Linked DNA regions of Homo sapiens: all the other regions are linked to region 1. Evidence: promoter capture Hi-C in 16 types of primary human blood cells and fetal thymus (Javierre and others, 2016). All regions are on one chromosome and are shown on one strand. The core of a region is centred on a gene start or on the middle of the fragment in contact, and the rest is flanking DNA. Distances in the headings are between cores, read along the strand shown.

The links. The method cuts DNA at HindIII sites, captures the fragments that hold promoters and counts their contacts. A CHiCAGO score of 5 or more calls a contact.
Region 2: a fragment that was not itself captured here is called in contact with the fragment with the promoter of PLEKHM2 in region 1 in 1 of 17 cell types (total B cells); the score reaches 5.3 in total B cells.
Region 3: a contact is called between a fragment that was not itself captured here and the fragment with the promoter of PLEKHM2 in region 1, in 1 of 17 cell types (activated CD4 T cells). The highest score is 6.8, in activated CD4 T cells.
Region 4: a fragment that was not itself captured here is called in contact with the fragment with the promoter of PLEKHM2 in region 1 in 1 of 17 cell types (monocytes); the score reaches 5.5 in monocytes.

Annotation. Positions count from the first base shown.
Region 1 is chr1:15,681,599-15,688,710 of GRCh38, forward strand. It overlaps PLEKHM2 (pleckstrin homology and RUN domain containing M2), which reads left to right and starts at 2,722. Exons shown (of 20, transcript NM_015164.4): 1 at 2,722-3,020. The coding sequence starts at 2,961. RefSeq lists silencers at 2,576-2,655, 2,746-2,825, 3,346-3,415 and an enhancer at 3,646-3,705. The HindIII fragment of the contact is 15,543 bases long and covers 1-7,112 here.
Region 2 is chr1:16,366,595-16,373,706 of GRCh38, forward strand. It overlaps SZRD1 (SUZ RNA binding domain containing 1), which reads left to right and starts at 648. Exons shown (of 4, transcript NM_001114600.3): 1 at 648-714. The coding sequence starts at 664. It also overlaps the pseudogene RPL22P3. RefSeq lists enhancers at 345-404, 1,155-1,444. The HindIII fragment of the contact is 4,401 bases long and covers 2,198-6,598 here.
Region 3 is chr1:16,252,964-16,260,075 of GRCh38, forward strand. FBXO42 (F-box protein 42) reads right to left here. Exons shown (of 10, transcript NM_018994.3): 5 at 3,643-3,796; 6 at 2,748-2,858; 7 at 672-768; 8 at 133-189. Among named protein-coding and RNA genes, the nearest start is that of CPLANE2, 19 kb to the left of the region's middle. The HindIII fragment of the contact is 4,911 bases long and covers 1,416-6,326 here.
Region 4 is chr1:16,198,556-16,205,667 of GRCh38, forward strand. ARHGEF19 (Rho guanine nucleotide exchange factor 19) reads right to left here. Exons shown (of 16, transcript NM_153213.5): 9 at 6,983-7,112; 10 at 6,796-6,870; 11 at 6,532-6,621; 12 at 6,204-6,364; 13 at 3,861-4,019; 14 at 3,227-3,306; 15 at 595-699; 16 at 1-189. The coding sequence ends at 32. Among named protein-coding and RNA genes, the nearest start is that of ARHGEF19, 11 kb to the right of the region's middle. The HindIII fragment of the contact is 4,968 bases long and covers 272-5,239 here.

The sequences.
Region 1 (7,112 bases), core at 1,472-3,971:
TCATGAACCAGAGCTGCATCCAGCAGGTTGGGGCCTGTATGCACCCTAGCCAGGATGGAGTGGGAAGGAAGTGCGCAATTCTGACTCCACAAACACCTTTGGTAAGTAGGAGGCTATTTCTACTCATAGATACCTGGCTATTTATTTCCTCATTCAAAGTAATGTGTCCTCTGTCCTCAACCTTTTCTCTACCTATCCAGTGACTGGAGTCTCAACCCTCATCTGTTCTTATTCTGCTCTCTGAATATGAGAGGTAGATAACAACTCCAAAGAGGCTGTTATCTCTTGCTTTCCTGAACTCAGTACAAATAAGAAAACGCCCTGGGCTGGACATGATGGCTCATGCCCGTAATCCCAGCCCTTTGGGAGGCTGAGGTAAGAGGATGGCCTGAGCTCAGGAGTTCAAGACCAGCCTGGGTAACAGAGCGAGGCCCTGTCTCTACAAAAAATAAAATTCGCTGGGCGTATTTTATTCTGTACTCTCAGCTACTGGGGAGGCTGACGTGGGAGGATCCCCCAGGGAGTTCAAGCTACAGTGAGCTATGATCACACCCACCACTGCACTCCAGCCTGGGTGACAGAGTGAGACCCTGTCTTTAAAAAATAATTTAAGGCCAAGGCGGGCAGATCACCTGAGGTCAGGAGTTCAAGACCAGCCTGGCCAACATGGCGAAACCCCGTCTCTACTAAAAATACAAAAAAATTAGCTGGGCGTGGTGGCAGGCGCCCGTAATCCCAGCTACTGGGGAGGCTGAGACAGGAGAATCACTTGAACCTGGGAGGAGGAAGTTGCAGTGAGCTGAAATTGTGCCACCGCACTCCGGCCTGGGTGACAGAGCGAGACTCCGCCTCAAAAAAAAAAAAAAAAATTAGCTGGGCATGGTGTCACATGCACTTGTAGTCCCAGCTACTCGGGAGGCTGAGGCAGGAGAATCGCTTAAAGCTGGGAAGCGGAAGTTGCAGTGAGCAGAGATCGCACCACCGCATTCCAGCCTGGGGAACAGAGCAAGGCTCTGTCTCAAAAACAAACAAAACAAAACAAAACAAAAAAAACAAAAAACAAAGTACCACTATTTTGGGTCTCTCCTTGGGAAACTAAGGGGCTGGGGAGCGACCTTTGGAGGCTTGTGGGGTCCCTCTGAGATAAGCAATGAATCAGTATTTCAGATGCTAAGGGGACTTCAGGGATGGGGTGGCCTGAGCAGAGAAGAGGGAAGACCAGGGAACCAGAGTTGAGAACTGGGGTGTCTGAGAATAAAAAGGAGGGACTAATCTATGTGTCAGGATATATTTATTTGGGAACTTAAGGAGGGAAGAGAGCCAGGTAGGAGACTGACACCTCTAAGTGCAGGGGCTTTATGAGATGGTGGATTTGAGGAGGGTGTGTGGGAAGAGAGTTGTTACGGTGGGTTTCAGGGGCTGAGGGAGTTGAGGCCCTTGGGATACGTGGGGCTGAAGAAGAGGGATAAGGATAAGGAGTGGGAATGGGGCATTGGGGCTGAAGGTGAGGAGGGTGTGTTTTGGGGGTGGGGAGGAACACCAGGGACCTCAAATGTAGGACTGGGCCTTGAGGGTGAGGCACTGAGGAGGGGAGGCTGTGGAGGGCCAGGGGGCCCAGGGAGGGTCTAGGGCTGGGGACTGGAGTCTAGGCTGACCCGGTGGGGGTGCTGGGTCCTCCAGGCTGCGAAAGCCAGGGGGCCTGGGTCTGCACATTGAGGGGGTGGCTGGGCTAAGGAAGGGGAGGAAGATAAGTGGGGCTTGCAGGCTAAGAGGGTCTTGGGGTCCCTGGCCAGAGTTAGTGGGGTGCACTGGGGTCTCCAAGGAGGGGTCTGTGGACTAAAGAGGGCCGGCGGGAGGGGGCCCAGGGTCTGTGGGTGTCTCGAGTCTCTGAGGAGGGCCGGGGTCTCAGGGTCTGTGGGGGTCTCTGGCCTGTGGGGTCGGAGTCTCCAGAGTCCTTGGGGCCTGTGGGAGTCTCTGGGGTTTTGTGGGGGGATCCTGTGGGCTGAGGAGGGCTGTGGGGAGGGTCTCAGGGTCTCTGGGGAGGGCCAGTGCCTCGGGGTCTTTGGGGGTCTCTGAGGAGGGCTGGGGGCCCAGGGTCTGTGGGGGTCCCCAGCAGGTGGGGTTGGGGTCTCCGGAGTCCCTGGAGTCTGAGGGTGTCTCTGAGGTCCCAGGGGGGAGTCTATGGCCTGAGGGCTGAGGGGGAGGGTCTCCAGGGTCTCTGAGGAGGGCCGGTGTCCCGGGCAGGCGGGGTCGGGGTCTCCGGAGTTCCTGGGGTCTGAGGGTGTCTCTGGGGTCCCTGAGGGAATCTGTGGGCTGACGAGGCCTGGGGGAGGGTCTCCGAGGAGGGCCGGGGTCCCAGGGTCTGTGGGGGTCTCTGGCAGGCGGGGTCGGGGTGTCCGGAGTCCCTGGGGTCTGAGGGTGTCTCTGGGGTCCCTGAAGGAATCTGTGGGCTGAGGAGGGCTTGGGGAGGGTCTCTGAGGAGCCCCGAGGTCCCCGGCAGGCGGGGTCGAGGTCTCTGGCGTCCCTGGGGTCTGAGGGTGTCTCTGGGGTGCCGGGGAGAGTCTGTGACTTGAGGAGGGCTGGGGGCGGGTCTCGGGGTCTCTGGGGAGGGCCGCGGCCAAGGGTCTGTGCGGGTCTCCGGGTCCCCGGAGTCCCCAGGCGCAGGCGGGCCCTGGCGCCGCCCCGCCTGACATCAGTTCCTGCCGCCGCCGCCGCCGCGGCGCACAGCCCGCGGCCTCCTTCCCCGCCGGCCGCGCTCCGGAGCCTCCGGGCCGCGGTGGAGCGAGGGCCCAGGCGAGGCGAGGGCCGGGCGGCGGGCGCCGGGCCCCGCGGCCGGCACGACGGAGCCCCCGTACGGCCGGCGGCAGCGGTTGGCGGCGGCCCCCGGCCCCCGGCGCGGGAAGCGGCGGCGGGGCGGCGGCGGCGGTGGCGGTGGCGGTGGCGGCGACGGTGGCAGCGCCATGGAGCCGGGGGAGGTGAAGGACCGGATCCTGGAGAACATCTCGCTGTCGGTGAAGAAGGTGAGCGCGGCCTCCCTCCCGGCCGGGGCCCCTTCCTCGCCGCGCCCCCCACGCCCTCCGGCGGCGCTCTCCCGGGCCGGGGCCCCCCGCCCTTCCCCTCCGCGACCCGGGGGGCGACGAGCGGCCGGGAGCCCCGGGCCGGTAGAGGGGAAGCGGCGCCGCTCACGTGAGCGCCGCGGCCTCGGAGCTATTTTTAAAGAACAAAGTTGAGGTCAGCATCCTCGGAGCTTCCCCAAACCTGGCCCGGGGCCCTGCCCTCCCGGAGAGGGGTCAGCGACCCTCCGGTCCCCCACTGGGGCAGCGGCGCCCCCGGGAGCTCCTGAAGGAACCCCATGCAGCCTCCTGTGGAATCCGCTGCATCCCCGGGTCCCCCCGCCAGGCTGGCGTCGCCCAGGGTCTGGCAGTCAGGGTGGAGGCCAGTGATAAGCAACTTCACTTTCCCATGGCCTGGGTCCCGGCGACATTGCCTCTGCTCCTGGGAAGTCCCCTGAATAATCTTGCTCAAGGATGGTAGCTTTGAAGAGGTTCACTAGGGGCTTTGATTATAAGAACCTGAAGTACATGGGGATTGCATTTTGGATGCTGATCCGGGGAACCGGGTGACACCACAGACACCTTGCTGTGGGGCTTGCCGCAGTAAACATCACTGTCCCAATTCCAGGTAGAAATGAGTACATACCTGTCAAGGGCATGTATTTGTGATGAAGTTGGCATATCCGCAAAAGGGTCCGTGCTAGAAGGTAGAATCCATATTCTGACGTTTTTGGGCTGGATATAAAAATAATAATAATAAATTTAAAAGAATCCATATTCACTGAAAACCTAAATGGCCAAATCAGAATGGATTTTTCTCTCTCTCTCCCTCTCTGTGTGTGTGTTTGTGTAATTTGAATTCCTGGCTCACCAGATAGTCTCAGAAACTGAAAAAAAAAAAAAAAAAAAGAAAGAAAGAAAGAAAAAAGAGAAAGAAAATGGCTTGGGTGAGGGACTCAGCAGCTTATTTTACTTGAAGAAGCAAAATGGATAGAATTAATTAGATCAACCATCATATTTAAATAATTGTCTGTTTTCCCACTGAGATTCCTCAAAAGCAACACAGGCAAGCTATTTTACCTTTCATAAAGATAAATGTGACTTAAAAAGAAAATAGATTCTCGAATTGCCCTTACTGAAAACATTCCTCTAAAAGCACAGCTAAAGTAACATTGCAGAGATCCAACAAGAGTTTTACGTAGTTTTACTGAGCTTTGCTAATGTAATGGGGTATGGTTTTTGCTTACTCAAGGAGGGCAGGATGAGCAAATACTTTGTTGAGAAGCAGTACATCTTTCCTAATGGAAGAGAAAGGAACACAGGTGACCTTTCTAATCTAATCTGGGCTGATTGTGGCTTTAGGTAGGCCCGGCGTTTGTCTTTGGATTTCAAACAAATGAATGGAGAAAGTCTGTGATGGAGAGGCAGTAGACATGGGGCACGCTGTCACATGTATAAGCATGAGTCTTTTGAAGGCAGAGATTCACTTTGTAAGTCAGGCTGTCACTTATGAGTTAGGTGTGTTTGTTGAGGTGCATATAATTGTAGGTGTTTGGACAAGGACACTTATTGAGCTGGAATGCACCCCAGAAAATGTCACACTAGAAACTGCAAACCCATCCCTGGGTGTATCACAACCAAAGCCATGGGCAGCATCATTGTTAGGAGCATGGATTCTGGAGTCCAGCTGCCTGATTGAATCCCCGCCCTGCCAAATTAATAACCCTGTAACCTTGGTCAGGCTTATTAACCTCTCCATGCCCAGTTTCTTCATCTGTAAAGCAGGGATAAAATTAGGGATGTTGTGGAGTGTTTTTTTGTTGTTGTTGTTGTTGTTGTTTGTTTTTGAGACAGAGTCTTGCTCTGTTGCCTGGGCTGGAGGGCAGTGGTGTGATCTCGGCTCACTACAACCTCCACCTCCCAGGTTCAAGCGATTCTTCTGCCTCGGCCTCTCGAGTAGCTGGGATTACAGGTGTGCGCCACCACACCCGGCTAAATTTTTTTTTTTTTTTTTTGAGACGGAGTCTCGCTCTGTCGCCCAGGTTAGAATGCAGTGGCCTGATCTCCGCTCAGTGCAAGCTCCGCCTCATGGGTTCACACCATTCTCCTGCCTCAGCCTCCCAAGTAGCTGGGACTATAAGCGCCGGCCACCACGCCCGGCTAATTTTTTTGTATTTTTAGTAGAGACGGGGTTTCACCATGTTAACCAGGGATGGTCTCGATCTCCTCACCTTGTGATCTGCCCGCTTCGGCCTCCCAAAGTGCTGGGATTACAGGCGTGAGCCACGGCGCCCAGCGTCTAATTTTTGTATTTTTAGTGGAGATGGGGTTTCCCCATGTTGGCCAGGCTGGTCTTGAACTCCTGACCTCAAGTGATCTGCCTGCCTTGGCCCCCCGAAGTGCTGGGATTACAGGCATGAGCCACCGTGCCCGACTACTTTTTGTATTTTTTGTAGAGATGGGATTTCGCCCATATTGGTCAGGCTGTGTTATGAAGATTTTGTTTGTTTGTTTTTTGTTTTTTGTTTTTTTTGAGATGGAGTCTTGCTCTGTCACCCAGGCTGGAGTGCAGTGGCGTGATCTCAGCTCGCTGCAAGCTCCGTCTCTCAGGTTCACGCCATTCTCCTGCCTCAGCCTCCCGAGTAGCTGGGACTACAGGTTACAGGCGCCCGCCACTATGCCCGGCTAATTTTTTTGTATTTTTAGTAGAGACGGGGTTTCACCGTGTTAGCCAGGATGGTCTCGATCTCCTGACCTCATGATCCGCTCACCTCGGCCTCCCAAAGTGCTGGGATTACAGGCATGGTGAAGTTTTAATAAACATGTAGAGTGTTTAGCATGGATCCTGGCCCAGTCTTAACTGGTAGCTTTTTTCTTTGTGCAAGAGCCCATTCCTCAATTTTACAAGGTTTGAAGATGGCTCAACTGCCTCACCACCTAAAGGTCGTTCTACAACACCATTTGTTCTTGGTAGCCACTTCCTTTGTGTGTTTGTTTGAGACAACTGCGATGTGATTCTTGCATCATAAATTACATTTGGTTTTCTGAATCAGAGTGTCTGCTTTACTAGGAACCTGTTAGTTTGGCTACAGCAGTAGACATTGAGGACAGCAGTCTTGGGGTCAGATTTGTCCTTGAATGCCAGTCTCACCTAAATGTGTTATATAGCACCTTGAGAGTTGCTTTGCCTTTTTTCTTGCATCCTACCACCAGTAAATGGTCTTACTGGTCATTTTATAAGGATTTTACGTGAAGAAAATGAGATGCATATTTCTGCAAGGAAAGATCCATTGTGTATTTCTATATTTGCAAAGAGTACTTTAGAACTTTTTATGAAAATGAAGCATGCCTACAGGAAAGTGTACAGGTCCTGAGCGGACAGCTTAATGAGTTCTCACAAAGTGAAAACACCTGCATATCCAGCACCCTGACCAAGAAACAGAACATGACCATTATCCCAGAGGGCCCCTCGTTCCCCTCCCAGAAACTACACCCTCAAAGCAACCACTATCCCCAAGGAGTATTGTTGAGTTCAACTATTTTCACACTTAGATTTTGTGATGGTGAATACCCATTATAACACCAGACAGGTGAAACAGCTGTTAATCCATCTGAATCCAAGGCAACCTGTGTTCTGATATGGACACAGAATTCCTGAGGGTGAGAGAGAACTGGAGAGTTTAATAATTAACATGATTAAATGAAAATGATAACAATAGGCCAGGCATGGTGGCTCACGCCTGTAATCCCAGCACTTTGGGAGGCCAAGGTGGATGGATAACTTGAGGCCAGAAGTTCAAGACCAGCCTTGCCAACATGGTGAAACCCCATCTCTACCAAAAATACAGAAATTAGCTGGGTGTGGTGGCGCGTGCCTGTAGTCCCAGCTACTTGGGAGGCTGAGGCAGGGAAGCACTTGACCTGGGAGGTGGAGGTTGCAGTGAACTGAGATCGCGCCATTGCACTCCAGCGTGGGTGACAGAGGGAGACTCTGTCTCAAAAAAAAAAAAAAAAAAGGAAATGATAACAATAGCAAATTCAATTCATATTCAATTCTAG
Region 2 (7,112 bases), core at 3,148-5,647, 690 kb after region 1:
AGTAATTTTTAGAGGTAATACTAACGTATTTATCTACCATTAAAGACCCAGGAGAACTTAGTAGCTGGGAATCCCACTGGTTCTCCCAACTGAGGTGCAATATTATCTTTACCGTCTTTACCTTACGGTAGCGGATATAGTGTTAATAAATGATTAGAATACTGCTTTATGAGCAGGAAATACTGTAATGATTTTCACCCTATCAGAAATAATAAAATGTTTTCTGCATCAGCAGATATTTTTCATCATTTGTTGGTGTTTAAAAATGTTTTCAGAATTCTGAAGATACCATTATCTGTAGTTTAGGAAAACTACGACTCACTTTAAAAGAAAAAAAGTTTTCTTTAATTGCCTGCCCTTAGAAAAGATGGTTCCACAGAACACACTTCCGGTACTCGAGATGAGGACTTCCCTTGAACGCCCATTCTGTAAGACAGATAACGCGTTGGCCCTTAAGAAAGATGGCATCTTTCCGCCTTCTCTGCCCCCTTCCAAGATGGCTGCCCTAATGTACACTTGGGACCTTGCCTGGCGCCTCTTCCGGGCTTGGCAGCGGGCGGGGTCCATTGAGTAAAGCCTTGCGTGCCTGCGCCCGCGACGGAGGCGCGCTTCAAAGCGCAGGCGCGGGGAGGGGGTGGGGGAGGAGGGAAAGCGGCGAGTAAGATGGAAGATGAGGAGGTCGCTGAGAGCTGGGAAGAGGCGGCAGACAGCGGGGTAAGGAGGAGCCGCCGTCCCATGGCAGGGCCGGGCGAGACCTGGCGTGAGGGGAGCCTCCGGGGAGCGGGTCTGGAGATAGTTCTCCCCAAGGAAGGGCCCCATACGCCGGGCTGGGGGTGGTGGAGAGGCCCCCAGTTCCTGAGCGCCGTGAAGGCCTCTTAAAGGGGCCGCGATCCATTTCTCTCCTTTCCTTTGCCTGGTGCGCCTCCCTCCGCCCACTAACGCGCGCGTCACCCGGGGCGCCCCACCCGCCACCCGGGGCCTCCTTTCCTGACCCCCCGCGCCCACTTGCTGGCCGTGGGCCTCTGTGACTCTTTCCGATGAGCCTTGTGGCCCGAGGCACCATTTTAAAGTTCTTGTGCTCTGACCGGGACGGACACACCATGTGGGTGGTGGTGGGGCTTGCGCGGACCAAGGAGGCATGTCCGGCTTCGCAGGAAAGCGGGAGGAGGCAGCCGAGGGCGGGGGGAAATTGAATCCTCTTTGGGCTACTCAACTCTGCTAAAATCCCCCACCATCCGTCACGGTGGACGAGTCGGGTTTTTTTTCTCTTTCACTTTTACTCCAAGAAGAGTTTGTGGGCAGGCAGGCAGGTCTCACGGGGACTCTGCCAAAGCAACCGAAAGCTCTGCGGGGCAGCTCCTCTGCCACTCAGCGATCCGAGGCCCCGGGAAGGTCTAGGAGTTCGCTTGTCGGAGTCCAGGGTGTGATATGTAAAACAGCCACATTCTTGGGAGAGGAGTGGGGAGATGGACCGTTCGACTTGTTTTTGGAGTTTTTGTTTGCCTCCAGAAACTGTAGGAAAATAGTTTATCTCAAAGAGGATCTGTCAATTCTCTTAGATTTGTGAATAATTTGGTCTTTTCAGAGTTTGTCTGTGGTGACCCTTGTGAATATGGGGAGATGCTTTTTTTGTCTCCCCGTGTTCGCGTCTGTTCAATGCTGGCTGCACTGACATCCACCTTAAAGGTTTACGTGTGCGAGGAGTCGAGCGTACCAGGGTAGAGTAGGCGCTGGGTTTTTTTTCCTAAGCGCTTTTTGGGGGTGCTTATGAGCTCTGGAAGAGGCCGGGAAATTGACCCTGGCAGCAGTCAGTGGGTGTATCTAGCTCTACGGGAATGTTGAAACTTGGCTTTGAAGTTTTTTCCGCTGGTTCAGCATTTCTCTCAACGGTTGTTTATGTTTTTCCATTTAGCATAATTGAGAATTTGAAGGATTCGTTCGTTCAGAGGATATTTAGTAGAGTTCTTAATGTGACAACCATCTTTCTTGAGTTTTGGCTTAAGAAAGTTAAAGATTTTATAGGGAGTAACAGGTGTCAGTTGGCTCCTTGTTCATTCAACCAGCATTTTTGAGTGTCTGCTATATGCTAGGCAGTGTGCTTATCAGTGACTTTGTGCCAGAAAATGCAACATTTTCGGTACAGGCGTTTATTGCCTACCACTAATCTGAGTGAATCATCCAGACATCCCTATAAAAAAGCTTGGCTTACAACTTTAATATCATGCAAATGATACGTTTCTTGGGCATCTTGGCCTTTCTTTGGTTTTCCTCACCTGTTTCAAAGGGTCATAAATCCCTCATGTTAGAGAAGTTGGAGGCAAATGAACAAAAATGAATAGGATTCAGCAGAAATTGGGGCTTACTTTAGTTTTTCAGAATGGGTAAGTCAATTAGAAATAGCTAGTACAGTCCCCCATTTAACAGCTGAATAAGCCTAGAGATGTGAGATTTAGAGACTTAGGTCTTTCTGACGCTTGTCGCGTGTTCTTTCTTTTTTCTTTTGGTTCCCAAGTTTTATTGAAAAACTTATACAAAATATTCCAGATAAATGAAATTTAATCCTCATCTTCCTCCTCTTTGTCCTGGTTAATCTGGAAGTAACATAATTTGTAGCTATCTTTGCTGTTAGTAACTAGGAGCAACCAATCACGTAAATTATTCTTCATATATGTTTTGGTGAGATATTTGAAATACCTTTTGGAGAAAGGCACCTCGGATGTCACGTTGATCTTGCTCTTACTCCTTTCAATGGTCGCCATCCCTCCACCAAGGTTCTCAGCTTTTCCGTTCACTTTGATCCTTTCTTGCAAAAACTGCTCAAAATTGGCAGCATCCATGATTCCATCTTCTACGGGGTGAGTGCATTCAAGAGTGAACTTCAGAACCTGCTTCTTTTTTTTGCCCCCCTTCACCACAGGCTTTTTCACAGAAGCCATGGCAGCAGCGGAGGCAGAAAGCCAGAGTTCTTTCTGCTATCCCTTACTTTAGTAATATCCTTTAAAAATGTACCGCGGCCAGGTGCTGTGGCTCACGCCTGTAATCCCAGCACTGTGGGAGGCTGAGGTGGGTGGATAACCTGAGGTTAGGAGTTCCAGACCAGCCTGGCCAACATGGTGAAACCCCATCTCTACTAAAAATACAAAAATTAGCTGGACCCTATGGTACATACCTGTAATCCTAGCTACTTGGGAGGCTGAGCCAGGAGAATTGCTTGAACCTAGGAGGCGGAGGTTGCAGTGAGCCGAGATCATGCCATTGCACTCCAGCCTGGGCAACAAGAGTGAAACTCCATCAAAAAAAAAAACAAAAAAAAAAAACTACAGAGGTGGAACACAAACCTTGCCTTATTGACATCATGAACACTTCTGCCAAAATGCAGGTTCTCTAATATATTTTATTTAATTGAATCCTTGAAACAACCTGTTGAGGCATTGTCCCCCTTTTATAGACAAGGAAACGGAGGTTTCGAGAGTAACCTGTTTTGCGCAAGATCACACAGCTGGGGGAAGCTGGGATTTGATCCCAAGCATGTCTGACTTCAAGGCTGGGCTTTTTTTCTCTAGCATTTTGCTGCTACCTCTCTACCTGGGGACATGTGGAAAATTTGGGAATTGGGTGTTCTTTCTTTTCCTTTTTTTTTTTTTTGTTTGAGAGAAGGTCTTACTCCATTGCCCAGGCTGGAGTGCAGTGGCTCAATCTCATCTCACTGCAACCTCTACCTCCCAGGTTCAAGCGATTCTCGTGCCTCAGCCTCCCGAGTAGCTGGGATTACAAGGCGCATGCTACCACGCCCAGCTAATTTTTGTATTTTTAGTAGAGACGGGGTTTCACCATGTTGGCCACGCTGATCTCGAACTCCTGGCCTCAAGTGATCCTCCTGCCTTAGGCTCCCAAAGTGCTGGGATTACAGGCATGAGCCGCTGCACCTGGCCTTTTTTTTTTTAATTTTTTTTTTATTTTTTGAGATGAGATTGCCCAGGCTGGGCCTCCCAGTAGATTATAGGCATGTGCCACTATGCCTGGCAGCTTTCATTAAAAAAAAAAATATTTATTTATTTTAGATACAGGGTCTCATTTGGTTTCCCAGGCTGAAGTGCAGTGGCATAATCATAGCTTACTGCAACCTTGAATTCTTGGGCTCTAGCAGTCCTCCTGCCTCAGCCTCCCAGAGTTCTGGGATTATAGGCATGAGCCACTGCCCTCAGCCAGCTTTCATTTTTAATAGTTTGTCTGGGCTTATATTTGAACGCTGTCTTGAATTTGATTCCCTTTTCAAATTTCACAAAGGTTCTTGTAAATATGCACTTTTGAAAGAGGGGAGCCAGGGAGATGTTATGTCCACATCACTGGGAAACCAATGGACTGCAGGCTATACATGTCTTTCATATATAGGCAATTGCGTAAAAGTCTTGGCTTCAGGTTATCCCCTCTTCCTACTGGTAATGAGCTTTGAATACCCTACTCCAAAACAGCAAAAACTGGGTGAAGACTAATAACCTAAATGGGAAAATTGAAACTACACAAAAATCCAGCGGCAGTTCTAATCCTTGGAAGTAAAGGATTTTGGAGATCCCTGCCCTCCAACACCACAAGAAAATTTTTGTCTTTTTTCTTTGAGACAGGGTCTTGCTCTGTTGCCCAGGCTGGGGTGCAGTGGGGAACACTCACTGCAGTCTCAGGCAATTTCTGTCTCAGGCAATCTCCACCCGCCTCAGCCTCCCAAGGTGCTGGGATTACAGGCATGAGCCATCATGCCCAGCCAAAAATTTTTTGACATCATGTAGAATTTCTCCCCTCCCCTCCCCTCCCTCTGCTCCCATCCCTCTGCTCCCCCCTCTCCCTTCCTTTTTTTTCCTTTTTTTTTTTCCCCTTTTTTTTTTTTCCCGAGATGGAGTCTTGCTCTGTCGCCCAGGCTGGAGTGCAGTGGCGCAATCTCGGCTCATTGCAAGCTCCGCCTCCCGGGTTCACACCATTCTCCTGCCTCAGCCTCCCGAGTAGCTGGGACTACAGGCACCCACCACCACGCCTGGCTAATTTTTTGTATTTTTAGTAGAGATGGGGTTTCACTGTGTTAGCCAGGATGGTCTCGATCTCCTGACCTCGTGATCCGCCCGCCTCGGCCTCCCAAAGTGCTGGGATTACAGGCGTGAGCTGCTGCGCCTGGCCCCTTTCTTAAGACAGAAGGGTCTTGCTCTGTTGCCAAGGTTGGAGTGCAGTGGTCGGAATACAGCTCACTGCAGCCTCAGCCTCCTGAGTAGCTGGGCCCACAGGCGTGTACCACTATGTGCCTGGCTAATTTAAAAAGAAAATTTTTTTGTAGAGACAGGGTCTTGCCATATTGCCCAGACTGGAAGAATTTTTGTGTGTGTGAGTCATCTGAGGTCATTGTTTCCTGTATAGCTTCCGAATTCTTAGTATCAAGTCCTATTGTGTCATTTGGAGAAAGACTGACTTTGAGAAGTCCCTCACATATTCTGTGAATAGACTTTTTGCTTTTAGTTAGTATGGCAAACACTTTTTTCTTTTTCTTTTTCTTTTTTTTTTGAGACAGGGTTTCGTCCTATATCCCCAATTGTTTAAGACAATCAATAAAATATGCCAGGCGTGGTGGCTCACGCCTGTAATCCCAACACTTTGGGAGGCTGAGGCGGGCAGATCACCTGAGGTCACGAGTTCAAGACCAGCGTGGCCAACATGGTGAAACCCCGTCTCTATTAAAAATACAAAAATGAGCTTGGCATGGTGGCAGGTGCCTGTAATCCCAGCTACTCCGGAGGCTGAGGCAGGAGAATCTCTTGAACCTGGGAGGCAGAGGTTGCAGTGAGCAGAGATCGCACCACTGCATTCCAGCCTGGGTGACAGAGTGAGACTCTGTCTCAAAAAAAAAGAGTTCATAGTGTTGGTAATGAGCTAACCCAGCTAGGGGAAGGCAGCAGATGATATAAAAATGTAATTGGACCAGTGGTTATTATAAAGCACTGACAACCTCTCTGATTTCCCTGTATCTTGCAAGTTTCCTTTTATTCTTTTTCTCCAGGTCAAGGCATGCAGCTAGTGGGAAGAAAATGCATCTTGAATAAGTTAAAGGATGACTGGTGTTCTGGATTAAGAATTGAAATTTATGTTTACTTTCTACCCCCATGAGCCAGTTATCCAAACATTGCCCCATCAGTGATGCTGGATGGTGTATGAGTCCATAGGAAGGTGTCATTAAACATTAAATAACTATTGCATACCAGGCATGGAGGCCCTGTTTAGTGGGGGAGTCAGACAGGTCCGGCAGCACCTTCAGGAAGAGGCATAAGTGGGGTACCATGGCTGGATCAGAGAAAGTCTTGTAAAGAAGACGATGCCTAAGTTAAGATTTGAAAGATCAGTTGAATTAAGCAGTGGTAAGTCTGGGAGAGGCAGGTAGAGTGTAGGGCCAAAGCAGGCATGGATGAGGAGGCCGAGAGACAAATACACAGCATTGGGAGGGCTACAAGTATTTCCTTCTGGCTGAAGGGGAGAGGGTTGGCAGGGTTGAGTGGAAAGAGATGAGACCACAGAGGTATGTAGGGGCCAGATTGGGAAAGGCTTCCTTGTACTTGGTTCTGGAAGCTTGAACTTTGTCCTGAAAGTGCAAGGAGCTTTGAAGTTTTTTTTTTTTTTTTAAGCAGAAGAGTGATATAGCTAGATTTATTTATTTATGTTTTAAATTTTTTGCCGGACACGATGGCTCATGCCTGTAATGCCAGCACTTTGGGAGGCTGAGGCAGGTGGATCACCTGAGGTCAGGAGTTCGAGACCAGCTTGACCAACATGGAGAAACCCTGTCTCTACTAAAAATACAAAATTAGCCAGGTGTGGTGGTGCCTGCTTGTAATCCCAGCTACTCGGGAGGCCAAGGCAGGAGAATCGCTTGAACCTGGGAGGTGGAGGTTGCGGTGAGCCGAGATTGCACCATTGCACTCCAGCCTGGGCAACAAGAGTGGAACTCCGTCTCAAAAAAAAAAAAAAAACAAAACACGTTTTTTTTTTTTGAGACAGGGTCTCACTCTGTCACCCAGGCTGAGCGCAGTGGTGCAATGATGACTTACTGCTGTCTCGACCTCCCAGGCTCAAGTGATCCT
Region 3 (7,112 bases), core at 2,621-5,120, 570 kb after region 1:
TACCCAAAAAGCATTCCTTAAATTAAAATGCCATGGAAATAGTCTTGTATACTCCTAGAAAAGAAGACAGGGGAAACAGGTTTTGAACACTTAGTAGCATGCACATGGGAATGCCACAGAAGCAATACTCACAGCATTGGGACCGCCACACCCTCCGAGGATTAAGATAGTTGCATCATCTATGACAATCTGAGGAGGGGAAGACATTGAAAATAAACCTACAAAGACACAGGTTTCTGACTTTCTATGCTTCACTGGTATATGAGAATAGCCTACCTAGCTCCCAAATGGGAATATTCTAGTTACCATAACCTCTCCATTCTCCTAAAAACATATCAATTCTGATCCCTGTGAATAAATTACTGATAATTCACCTGAAAGGATACATTCTTTGTTGATCAAATATTAACATGAATGTCAACCACATAAAATGCAGGATTCTCTTGAGAAATGACACAGCAAAGTAAATGCTTTGGGGAGGAGCATAATATAAAACCACTATAAATAATATGACCCATTAGAAGTTGAAAAATAAATACCAGTAAAAAAGAATGATACATTTTCTTTGGCTTAGTGCATATTGGCATCTTACCTGACTCCCTCCTCCCTCTCCCGTCCTAACTGAAAGACGCTACAGTGTTTGCTGAATAGTTATTTTAATTCCTGAGCACCTGAGATTGGCCACCTCGAGGATGAGGACTGGGGCCAGAGATGTTCGGCTTGGACCACGCCCACTGCTCAAGGTCAAGGACCCAGACATCATTGCTCCTGTGAATTAAGGACAGAAGGATAAAGGTAGTTAGGAGCTCCCAGGGACCATAATGGTGGCTGGGGAGTTCCACATGCCTGTGGCCCATCTGGCAAACTTGCACCATTTTCACTTTCACAGACTGTGTGGGCTGGAGCAGGTTTTAGAGATGCCCTACTCAGAGTTCAGGGGCTTCTGAACCAGAAAGAGACCATGTTGCTGAATCCCAGCTCTGTAGCCTGAACAAGTCACTTAATTTTCTCTAACTCTGACTTTATCTCTAAAATGAAAATACTGTTACTACTGTCTGAGGAGCTGATATAAAATGAAGGGACCTTTATAAAGATGCGCAGCAAAGTGTTATGCTCCTACTTAGCACTTAGGCTGTATCTTTCTTCCCCTACTTTCCCTAGAAGTCATCCTGAGACCCTCCCTCTGCTCTTTCCACGAGGCCTCATCTGAGCCACGTCTGCGGCCAGACACTAGTGCCTAATGAGATTATTTTTTTAACCATCTATTAACTGAAGTAAAAGCAGATGATTAAAAAATAGTTAATTGGTGACAGCAGGAAATAGACACTGGTTAAGCTACAGTTTTCAAAAGCAAAAACCACAAAGAAGAGAAAAAACGATTCAAAAGGCAGCTTCATCATTGTCCAGGAGTTAAAAGCTTTATCGATTCTGGCTACAAAAAGTAATTGCACAATGACTAATGAAAGCTGCAGTTTTATCAAGGACAGACTGGCATCTCTAACCCTCAAGGGACCAACATGACGAGGACAGACTCCTGGATGGCAGTCTCTCTTTCATGGTCACTTAAGGTCATTGATTCACCCACAAAAATACAGGAATAATAGTTCCAATATCTGAAATCCTAAACTCTCTCATTGGGAGAGTAGCTCCTATAATCTCTCTCCATAACTGTTTTAAAATATGAAGATGGAAATGCCCTAAGGGAGGACAGGTGTGGGATGGTCTTGCTGCTGACAGCTCATCAACTTCCACTTCAGAGCACAGGGGGAATGACCACAACTGCTGCTACCGCTGAATCAGACAGTGATACAGATGGAATGCTCTGGCTCCTGACTATGGCTTGAGCTGTCCAGTATGGCCAGAAGTGGACAGGACAGGAGGTAGGGACAATGACCTCACAGAAATGTCATGCCTGACACAGTTTTCCTGTTCCTACCCATTCCACAACCCATCCCATTTGTTTTTTTCTTTTCTTTCCTTCTTTCTTTCTTTTCATGCCCTTTACATGTGGCTCAACCAACCTATCACATTTGGAGGGCCCACCATTTCCACTTGTCCTGTCAATCTCCCCCTCTTCTCCTCTAAAGCCCAAAAGGGCAAGAGCTGGGTAATAAAGTAGAATAAGTAAAAGCATTCTGTTCTCGAAAGTTGGCCTTCTGCAGGCACAGCACAGCAGGCAAGGTGGAGGTTCCATCAGAATTTGATCCTACTGAATAGAACCATATGTCAAAGAGATTCTATATAACTATGATTTTATAGAGCAAATTTTTCAATTTATTGGTCTGTGATTAAGGGATTAAAGAACAGAATGCTAGGATGAGATAACTAATTGGATTAATTAGAGCCATGCTCAGGAATACTGACCCTAACTTACTTTTTTTTTTTTTTTCCTTAAGAGTCTCGATCTGTTGCCCAGGCTGGAATGCAATGGGGTGATCTTGGCTCACTGCAATCGCCACTTCCCAGGTTCAAGCGATTCTCCTGCCTTAGTCTCCCAAGTAACTGGGACTACAGGTGTGTGCCACCATGCCCGGCTAATTTTTGTATTTTTAGTAGAGATGGGGCTTCGCCATGTTCGCCATGCTGGTCACAAACTCCTGACCTCAGGTGATCCACCCACCTTGGCCTCCCAAAATGCTGGGATTACAGGTGTGAATTAGGCACCTGGTCCCTAATTCACTTTTAAACCTGTTATTCCCAGGAGTATTTACCTTCAGGCTCATATGGAGCAAACCAAATGTACTTACATTTGCCGGGATCCTAAAGAGCCACCAAAGACAATCATTTTATCATCTATCACACAGGAGGAGTGGCCAGCCATGGGAGGTGGCCCATGGGTTGTCACAATGCAGTTCCACCTAATGTAAAAAGACAGGAGGAAGTCAAGAAGTCAGCACCACACACTTTATGTAAAAATAGTAAGTAGGCATCCATTTAAAATGATAATCCTATCACTTTCAGCAGAGATTTGTTGGGATAATAAGTAGAGGATGGCATAATGTATTTATGCCTTTCCTACAAGTTTGCTTAAAGTTATCTTCTTTCAAGTTCTGAATGTAAACGGTCTGGAGGGAGAGAGATGAGAAAACGATGACAAGAGACAAGATCATGGCTTCTTTGGCCTGGTTTGCTGACAAAGCACCACCTGCCACCTGCTACCTTTCCCTATGGTCCTGATCAGTAACAGCTAACAAGCGCCACGTACTAAGTCTTCCATTACAAGAAACGGCGGTTGCTGTCATTAAGAGATATATGTTTGAAAAACAATTCAGAGTAAGTCTTGGAGACACAGTTAGGAGTAAGGAATCATCTGGATCTACAACACTCCTGGAGTGTTAGCAGCCAAAGCTGAAGAGCTCGCTGTTCTTCAACTGGCTCATTCATTTTTCTTGAAAGAGGAATAAATCTCTTCTATTTTTTCTCTTTAGAATAAGGATTCTAAATGCAGGGTTCTAAGAGAGTCCTGTAAACTCTCTGAAACTGTTGGTAAAATCTGTGAATATGTGCATTTTTCCCCTCCTGGGAAAAGAGTCCACAGCTTTCCATCTAATTCTCAAAGGGACTCTTGACACAAAAAAACAAAGAATCCACTGATTTAAGGCCTTTTCTTCCAGATTTAAAGAGTTTATCTTTGTGACTTACCAATTTTTAGAGGGTGAGTAAGTGTGTATTTCATCAAAGAATCTCTCTGGCTGGTGTAGGGGATAAGGGCTTGGCCGCGTCCAGCCACCAAACAGCACTAGCAAGTCCTTGTACACGACCAGAGTTGCTCCAGCTTTGGGGGAAGGATAGGACCCTAGGGAAAGTCAGTAACACCATGGTTAGCATTCAGGATCTCACAACAATCCGTAGTTAGGCTATCCATAGATCACCTTTCCCTGGAAGAGCAACAAAAGGGGAACTAATACTACAAAGTGTAGAGGAAAGGTGGAAAGAAAACTGGGTTTGAGTCTGAGAGAAAATCATCACTAATTCACACGTCTTTTATTATTAACAGAGAAATATGAGTTAGAGAAAAGTTACTTAGCCTCTCTCATGTTTATAATTTGCTCACCTAAAATTAGGGATGAGAGTACCTATCTCATAAGGCTGTTTTGAGTATTAAATAGTATATTCAAAGCACCTAACATAATGCCTGGCACATAGAAAGTGCTCAACAAATGAGCACCCCTTCCCATCCCTTTAACAAACTTAACAGAGGTCACAAAGAAAAGAAAGAATGTAGAGGACCAGGGAGAAGTATACATAGAGGCTGGATGTCTGGATGCAACTTAAAAATAACTCGTTACAAAACACAGGTAAGAAAAGGAGGCAGGAGGCAGTTCTTATTTGTCCCGTGAGTCAAATTTTAACATAGGGACCTCCAGGCCCCTAGCTATGGGCTTCACATAACCAGATAGCCTCAGCCTAGCACAAATGGGGCAGACCTTCAAGGATTGGTGTGAAGGAATTCCAGTGAAACCATAAGTCTTACACCAAACACCATCTAGACTGGACCTCTGGGCTACACTGACCAAATTCTGAAAAAAAACACTTTGGCTTATGCTGGAAAACTTTAGAGATAACAAATGTCTTACAGGAGCATAATTTTTCAAAATCTATTGTCTTTGAAATAACAATTGCTATTTTTCCCCATCCCTCACTCTACATGTCACCTTTAGTTTCCTCAAGACCAAAGTAACTTGTCCCAATATCCAGGTGTCAGTAAATACCAGAATACTTTTTTTTTCCTTTGGAGGTGGAGTCTCGCTTTGTCACCCAGGCTGGAGTGCAATGATGCAATCTCGGCTCACTGCAACCTCCACCTCCTGGGTTCAAGTGATTTTCCTGCCTTAGCCTCCTGAGTAGCTGGGATTACAGGCATCTGCCATCATGCCCAGCTAATTGTTGCATTTTTAGTTGAGATGGGGTTTCACCATGTTGGCCAGGCTGGTCTCAAACTCCTGACCTCAGGTGATCTACCCGCTTTGGCCTCCCAAAGTGCTGGGATTACAGGCGTGAGCCACCATGCCTCGCTGAGAATACTTTTTTTTTTAAAATCTTTTTTTTTTCTTTTTGGTTAAAGCTGCAGGACTCATTTTTCAAAGGATATCTTAAGCAGAAGAAATCCCAACACTACATTAACCTGACAGCAGTCGAGATGCTCCAATCTAGGTGGAGAGCTTTGCTTCCTCTTTCAGTAGCACATTACAGAACACTGTTTGAAAAGCCCTGCTCAGACTGCTTTAATGGTGTCACTTACAAAGTCTCAAGGTTGAGAAGGTAGAGCAGAGGACTGTCTTTCTTGTGATCTCACTTAGGGGAACAATACGATTTACTGAGAAGGCATCAGTCCTGAAGAGTACAGGGTGAGCATCTAAGAACACCATGTGGCATCAGCTATTTTTCATTTCTTCTTCCTTTTTTTTTTTTTGAGACAGGGTCTTGCTGTTGCCCAGGCTGGAGTGCAGTGGCACAATTACGGCTCACTGCAGCCTCAACCTCCTGGGCTCAAGGGATCCTCCCACTTTAACCTCCCAAATAGCTAGGAATACAGGCAAGCACCACCATGCCCGACTAATTTTTAAATTTTTTGTAGTGATGGGGACTCCCTGCATTGCCCAGACTGGTCTCGAACTCATGGGTTCAAGCAATCCTGCCGCCTTGGCCTTTCGAAGTGTTAGGATTACAGGTGTAAGCCACTGTGCCTGTCCGTGTCAACTATTTTGAATACTTTCATAAATAAAACCAACACTAATCCAGACCACAGGAACTGACTGTAGAAATGAGTCTTTATTTATTTATTAATCTTGAGACAGGGTCTAGCTTTGTCACCCAGGCTAGAGTGCAGTGATGCGATCATGGCTCACTGCAGCCTCGACTTCCTCAGGCTGAAGCAATCCTCTTGCTTCAGCCTCTCGAGTAGCAGAGGCTACAGGCATGTAATACCATATCCAGCTAATTTTTAAAATTTTTTTGTTGTGATCAGGTCTTGCTATGTTGCTCAGGCTGGCCACGAACTCCTGGCCTCAAGCGATCCTCCCGCCTCAGCCTCCCAAAGTGCTGGGATTATAGGCATTACCCACCTCACCCAGTCAGAAATCTTCTCTAGGAAGAGTTATCACATCAATCTGAAGTGCTGAGGTATTCTCTACCCTCAAATCCCACAAGAATAGTGATTAAAGAGGCTGTTGTCTTTCATATAGCCTTACTGTTCCTGGTCAAAAACATTTACCTCCCCAAGGGGATCTATCTCCTAGCCCAATTAGAAAGCCTAAGTAATATAATGGTCTAGTTAAAACACAACTATTGCTCTAAAATAATTTAATTTGTGAAATACCAGACAAAGCTTCCAAGTTCTTGCCTCTAACTTGGAAATCATCAGTACTATGAAACAGTTAGAAAAAAGAAAAAACAAATAAACACATCACAGACTTCAGCAAAATAGTAATGTAAACTCTCTAGACTAGAATGTGGATTTGGATTTGAGATACTGGGCTTAAAGAAATTATAAATGCAGTATAAGAATATATACCTCTTGCCAGGCGCAGTGGCTCACACCTGTAATCCCAGCACTTTGGGAAGCCAAGGCAGGCAGATCACTTAAGGTCAGGAGTTTCAGACCAGTCTGGCCAACATGGTGAGATCCTGTCTCTATTAAAAATATTAAAAAATTAGCCAGGCATGGTAGCCCACGCCTGTAATTCCAGCTACTCAGGAGGCTGAGGCACAAGAATTGCTTGAAACTAGGAGGTGGAGGTTGCAGTGAGCCGAGATTGAGCCACTGCACTCTGGCCTGAGTGAAAGAGCAAGACTCTGTCTCAAAAAAAAAAAAAAAGAAAGAAAGAAAAAAAAGAAAGAAAGAATATATACCTTTTAAGGTGGGACATATTCATAGAATTTTTAAAAGTATTCATAAAACATGGCATACATAATGTAAGTAGAGGAAAGACTACACTTTAGATCTGTACTGCCCAACAAAGTCACCACTGGCCACATGTTGCCCGTGGTTATCAAACTGAAGAGCACAGATGTAGGACATTTCTATCATTGCAGAAAGTTCTATTTAATAGCGGTATTTTAGAAAAAGGTTTTAACTTTGTCAACAGTGTGCCTATGCTTGGGGATTACGG
Region 4 (7,112 bases), core at 1,506-4,005, 520 kb after region 1:
TGGAGGTGGGGTCCTAGGCCATGGCTGCCCATCACACAGGAGCCTCCCCCAGTTTGCTGGTGGCACTTGTGACTCGCTTATTCTCCCGGAGGTTTCGGAGGCGGGCGCTGAGGCTGCTGATCTCTTCCACATAGGCCTGGGGCACCCACCCCTTCTCACCATCTGCCAGGCGGACCCCTTCCAGCCAGCCTAGGGACACATAGGCCAAGAACAACAGCATCAAAGGGGTACCAGGGCCAGGCCTGGAAGGGAACACCACAGCCCTGATGCAAGCTTTGTCTGCACCCTTGGGGCCAAGGTGACATCATCTCAGCATCTCTCAGCTCCAGGAAGGACCCTGTCTTGAGCTGTCTTGCAGATGAACTTCTGACCTGTTTTTCCTGATATCCTCTGAAAGGGTATTTCCCACTCTCCCCCATCACTCTCCATCCTATATCTTTACAAGCAGGAAGTTCCTCCTCTCATCTAACCTGATTCCCACATGCTGTGGCAGATCAACACTTGCAGAACCTTTCCCTGTGATATCTTAGTCATCTAGCCACCTCCTGCCCACCCAAGCCCCATCAGGGACACTTTCCCAGGAGGCCCCCTCACCGTCACTGGTCCAGGTCCTCACTGACAGGATGTCAGTCTTCTCCAAGGTCAGCTCATCTGGGTGCAGTGCCTTGTATGTCCTAACACACTGAACCTGGGGGCAATCTGACAGCCCAAGGGAGGCTCAGGGAGTCCCAAGGGCAGGATGGCAGGGGGAGGAGCATGGGTAGGGCAGGGAGGGGCAGTAGGAGGAAGTAAGGGGGTGGGAAGGTGGCCATTGAGGCTTCTATTCCTCTGCCACTGCCATGCCACAGGCCCACGTTCAAGCAGGCATACCCTCTGCCCACCCTGGCCTATCTCCTCTCCTACCCTAAACACAAGTGCAGGATTAATCCAGTCCCTCCCAGCTTCAGTTTCTGCCTCTATACCAAGGGCTGTCCCCTCCCCAGCTCAAGCCAACACCTTGCTTGTGACCTTCAGACCCCAACGTCCAACTGCCCCCAGATACCCCACAGAAAACAGTAACGGCCCTGCAATGTGCCCCTAACATCACTCTGGTGCTCCCTTTGGCCCATCCTTCCCAACTGGGATTCAAGCTGCATCGCTCCCGTTTAAAGCCCTCCAGGGCTTCCCAGTCCTCTTAGAATAAAATCCAAAGTCCTCCCTAGGCCCTACAAGGCCCTTCATGGTCTGGCATCGCCCCCTGCTATCCTCGTCTTCTCCCCTCCACTTTCCCTCCCTACTCTCCCCTCCACTTTCCCTCCCTACTTTCCCCTCCACTTTCCCTCCCTACTCGCTCACAAAGCTCCAGCCACACCAGCCTCCCTGCTGTTCCTCACTCTAAGCTCCCTCCTGCCCCAGGGCCTTTGTGCTGGCTCTTCCTTCTGCCAGATGCTCTTCCCCAGATCTTTTCGTGACAACCTCTCCTCATCCTTCAGGGGTCAGATGTTAATTGCCAGGGACCTCCCCTGACCACCTGGGAATAGAGAGCTTACCCCCACCCAGGTGGGACTCCTAGCTCAAGCCAGAGCATCTACCCCCTTCCTGGTCCTCAGCTCTTTTCATTAGACCAGGTGGGCTGGTAGCATCCAAAGCCACAGACTGAGGGGCCAGACCTCGCTTGAATCCCAGTTCTGCCGCTTACTGGCTGTGTGACCAATTTACTTCACCTTCTAAGCCTGAGTTTTCTCAGATATGAAAAATGTCTACCTAGTAGGGTTGCCATGAGGATTAAATTAGATTTAATGCAAATACAAGGCCCCTAGCCCTGGGCCTGGCCTATGGCAGGCGCTCAGTGGGCATGAGTGCCCTTTCTTTCCCTTTACTACCTAAAGCTCAGCCCTAACTCCTCTGCTCAAAAGCCTCCATTAAGGCTGGGTGCAGTGGCTCACACCTGTAATCCCAGCACTTTGGGAGGCTGAGGCAGGTGAATCACTTGAGGCCAGGAGTTCGAGACCAGCCATGGTCAACATGGCAAAACCCTGCCTCTACCAAAAATACAAAAATTAGCTGGGCATGGTGGCAGGCGCCTATAATCCCAGCTACTTGGGAGGCTGAGGCAGGAGAATTGTTTGAACCTGGGAGGTGGAGGTTGCAGTGAGCCAAGATTGTGCCATTGCACTCCAGCCTGGATGGCAGGGTGAGACTCTGTCTCAAAAAAAAAAAGCCAGGCGTGGTGGCAAGTGCCTGTAATCCCAGCTACTCGCAAGGCTAAGGCATAAGAATCACTTGAACCCAGGAGGTGGAGGTTGCAATGAGCAGAGATTGTGCCACTGCACTCCAGCCTGGGGTACAGAGTAAAACTGTGTCTCCAAAAAAATAAATAAATAAAGGCCTCCAATAAGCCAGGCACAATGGCTCATGCCTATAATCCCAGCACTTTGGGAGGCTGAAGGGAAAGGATTGCTTGAGTCCAGGAGTTTGAGGCCAGGCTGGGCAACATAGCAATACCCTATCTCTACAAAAAATAAAAATAGAGGTGTGGTATCCAGGTGTGGTAGTGCATATCTGTGGTCCCAACTACTCAAAAGGCTAAGGCAGGAGGATCACTTGAGCCCAGGAGGTTGAGACTACAGTGATCCATGATCATGCCACTGCACTCCAGCCTGGGCAATACAGCAAGACCCTGTCTCAAAAAAACCCCAAACAAACCTTCAATAGCTCCCTAGGGACACTATAGGAAGGCTCTCTATGATTAGGTCGCACCCTGGCTTACCAGCCTCACTTCACACCCAAAGGAAAAACCTTTATTCCAGCTGAGCAGATGCCTCACCTGCCACCACTACCCCCACCACCCCTCATACCCTGGCTCTGGCTGCTTCTTGTCTTGTTTGCAACTGACGCAAAGATGGAGACAGACCTGGGCTCTGGTCTCGGCTCTGCTACTTACTGGCTGGGTGAACTTACACAAGTCCATTTATCTCTGAACCTCTCTTCTAACTTGTAAAACAGGGGTGAAATGGGAGGCTACGAAGGCTTTATGATCTCCAGGATGCTGCCTGTGGACACAGAGTCCACCTGTGCTATGTAAGTTCTGCCCAGCCTTCAAGGTTCCTCAGAGCTACCCCTGACTGCCCCAGAAGTTGGTCTCTCTCCCCATAGCCCTGCCAGCAACACAGCACCCAGGATGGGAGGGGAGGAGAGCGGGCGAGGGTCCAGCCCAGGGATGTAAGCAGCAGGGATGAGCTACTACCTTCCCCCTCACTGATGACCTCCTTGTCCTCCTGGGGGCTGGAGGGGCACAAGGCTGAGATCCATCGCTGCTTCTCACTTCTAGGGAAGGGGGAGGCTAAGTTGTCACAATATGCAAAGTGCAGTTGCCCAGGGCAGGGTGCTGAAACCAAGGCTGGGGGAGCCAGACATGATGTCCAGGCCTAGGACCCAGGCCTACCCTAGGGACCCATGTCTGCCCCACCCCAGGGCCCACCCCACAACCCGGTTCCCAAGCCTGTGCCCCACCCAGCTCTGAGCATAACAGGCCCAGAACCCCCTGGATGCCAGCCCTACCCCCATCCTGCCTAATGCCACAGTCCTGAAGCCAGAGATAGCAGGGTGTGGAGGTTTACATCCAAGAGATGCCCAGAGGCTGAGGAGGAGGTGGCAGCCCCCTGACACCACCTGTGGGGCAGGCACCCCTACTCTGGCCTCCAGCCCTGCCCTCTGCCCCTGTGTCCTGCCCAAGTCAGGGAAGAGTTGAGCACTTGGGGAGGAACAAGGCCAGGATGTCCCAGGGGTGCCCGCCATGGGGACGGGGTGCCCATCATGGGGACGGGGTGCCTGTCATGGGGAGGGGGAGCCTCCTCTCTCCCATATCCAGGCCCACTCACTCCGTCCGGGCCCGCAGCAGGAACTGGTGCTTCATGTGCTGCCCGTGGAGGAGCTGGAGGAGGAACACGTGGCCGGGGATGCCCTGCAGCTTCAGGCTCAGGTCCCGCACCTGCAGCTCAGCCATCTTGGCATGGACGAAAACGGCAAACTTCCCTAGCCTGGAGGACCGGGGGAGGGGAGGTCAGCCTGGCCTGGGCCCTGGCTCTAGGCACCCACCCTCGGGATCAGGTGGGTTCTGACTGGAAGTGGGGAGAAGGGGTTGCCTGCCCTGCCAGCGTTCTCACAGGGTCCTGCTTCTGGATAGGGCACTGCTAGTCCCCACAAGGAACCAAGAGCTCCTTCCCCGCTGGCTTGCTGGTGGAGGCTGGAGGTGATGGAGACCAGTCCCTGAGCCCCAAGCACACTTTTGACCTTTCTCTCTCTCTTTTTTTTGTTTTTTTATTTGTTAGTTTTTTGGCTTTTTGTTTTGTTTTGTTTTAAGACAGAGTCTCGCTCTGTCTCCCAGGCTGGAGTGCAGTGGCATGATCTCGGCTCACCACAACCTCCGCCTTCCAGGTTCAAGCGATTCATGACCTCTCTCTGAACCTCTCTGCCAAGCGTCTGTTCCAAAGAGCCAACTGGACAGCTCCCCTGAGGAGTGTCTAACTCTCTTCCAGTATATAAGCCCCACGAAGGCTGAGCCTCGTCTCTTTGCCACTGTATCTCAGTGTCTGATGATACTGCCTGACCCACAATTTGGGCTCAGTAAGTACTTGTAGGCAGGATGGGTGGAGGGTGTTCCACAGACGTCAACTCATTCAACAAAACTCGGCATCAGAAAAAACTCAGCTTCTCCCACTCCAAGCCAGATCCCCTTTACTGTTCTCCATTCCAGTGAAAGACCCCACCAGTTTGCCCAAGAGGAAACTCAGACGTCATGCTCACCTCTTCCCTTTCCATCCCCCCTACACCCATCTGGTAGCTATGTCCTGTCTTTCCTCCTTATTGTCCCTTGAATCCACTTATCCTGAAGTACCCTGCCACTTCTGGAGCATCTACCCTCTCCTGAGCAACTGCAAGACCCTCTGGCCTCTCCCCTTCCAGTTCATCCTCCAAATTGGCCAGGAGCAAAATATCATCCCTCTGCTTAACTCTCCACGCTCCCTGCTGCCTCAGAAAAAGTCCAACCTCTCTATCATGACCTTCAACATCCCAACTTCCCTCTGCTGCCTTTCTCCTTTACAAATCCAGCCACATTAGGCTTCATGATTCCCAAACACACATTCCGCTCTTCTACCCTACCATGACTCTGCTGTACTCCTGCACTCAAACTACCTGTCTACCTGGAAAACTCCTACTCATCCTTCAAAACCCAGCTCAAATGTCCTGTCCTCTATGAAGCTTTATTGATTCTCACTCCACACCAGGAAATACCGCAGTACACCCTTATATCAAAACCCTGATGATATGGTTGTCAGAATGTATTTTCACTGTCTGAGAGCTTCTGTGAGCAGAAAACAAGTCTCATTCATATTTATGTCCCTAGCACTGGCCTGCTACAGAACAGAGATTCAGTGACTGTTTACTAAATGAACAAACAAATCAGGAATGAATTCTTCTTATAGCATAACATGTCCATCCTTTTTTGTTTTAAGAGATGGGGTCTCACTATGTTGCCCAGGCTAGTCTTGAACTCCTAGACTCAAGTGATCCTCCTACCTTGGCCTCCCAAAGTGCTGGGATTACAGGTGTGAGCCACCGTGCCCAGCCCACATGTCCATCCTTTATCCCATTCACCTTATCCAGGTAGTCTTCTACCTCACTCTTCCTAACAATCCCAGCTAATACTGAACAAGTGTTCACTGTGAGTCAGGCATGGTGCTGCCATCAGACAGAGCTGGCATCCTCCTGGCTCCCCCACCTACTAGCTCCATGATCTGAGAGTAACAGAGAAGCCTATTTCCCAGGGAGGTATTTGGAGGATTAAAGGGAATAATCCACGTAGCATGCCTTGCACAGAGTAGGTACTGAGTAAATGTTGGCTTCTGGCATAGCTGTGACTCAGGGCAGAGTTGGGACTCTAGGGCTATGCTCTTAGTCTCTGCTCTTACTGGCTGAAGCTCACAGCATCTCCAAGTCCTCGGCATACAGTCTAGCCCTTGATTCTCCCTTCTGGAACATGGACTTGTCTCACATCTCTGCCTTTGCTTCAGGAGCCTCCAAATCTCAGGGTGCCCTGGCAGCATACCCTGGCACAGGCAGGGACTCCCAGGCCCAGGGATGGACTGGTCATAAGCCCAGTGGTGGGGAGGAAGAGAGCCTGGCTCCACTTTACCTACCCACCCCTGACTGCCCCGACTCACTCCTTCCGCCGAGAGAGCAGCAAGCAGTCATTGAAGAGGTGGAGGTAGACTGCCTTGCTGGACAGCTTCAGCTTGGCAGGGGGTGCTGCAGGCAGTGGTGCCAGCTCTACCAACTCTCCATGCCGAACCAGCCAGCGGGCCTGAGAGATCAGCGGGAAAATCTAGAGGGATGGAGAAGGATGGGTCAGGCCCAGGGGCACCAGGCAGAGAGCACAAGATGGTAGATGGGAGGGTGTGGGCAGCGATTAACTGGCCTGAAGCCCCCAGGGCAAGGAAGAAACAAGAGCTGCCCCTTGGGGTCCCCATCCCGCTGGCTGCAGACACACACCTTGCCCTCAAAGTGGATCTTCTTGCTCAGGTGGATGAGTTCCTCTGTCCTCTTCATGGACTGTACACTAGCATTGCACTCCTGCACCAGCTGGGGGAGCCGTGGGGAGGTCACCTGCAGCCCCTCAGCTCCGGCTCCCAGAGCCCAGCCTCAGACTCTTGCCTGGGGACCGGAGACTCTGACAGCTGGGGGCTGTTTTAGAGACGTGCTGGGGGTCCAGGGGGGGCCTCAGGAGCCAAGCAGCCCCTGCCCTGCCCAGCTCACCTCCTTGAGCGCATTGAAGGCCTTGGTGGCCATGTCTTCGTCTTCAGAGCCCTGTGCTGTCCGCTTCAGGATGTTCTGGAAGGTGGGATCAGCACAATGAGGCAGTCCTCATACTCCCGAGACCCGGCCCGCCCACAGGTGTATCTCCCTCGCCCAGCCCTCACTGTGGCCTGTCCCCTCGAGGTACCTCCACCAACATCTTGAGGCGGGTGATCCTCTGGAAGGGCAGGATAAGGAAGGAGGTAAGGGGCAGACGCTGGCACACAGGAGACTCCTCCAGGCGAGCCAGGATGCCAGGGAACCTGGGGTTCTCCAGG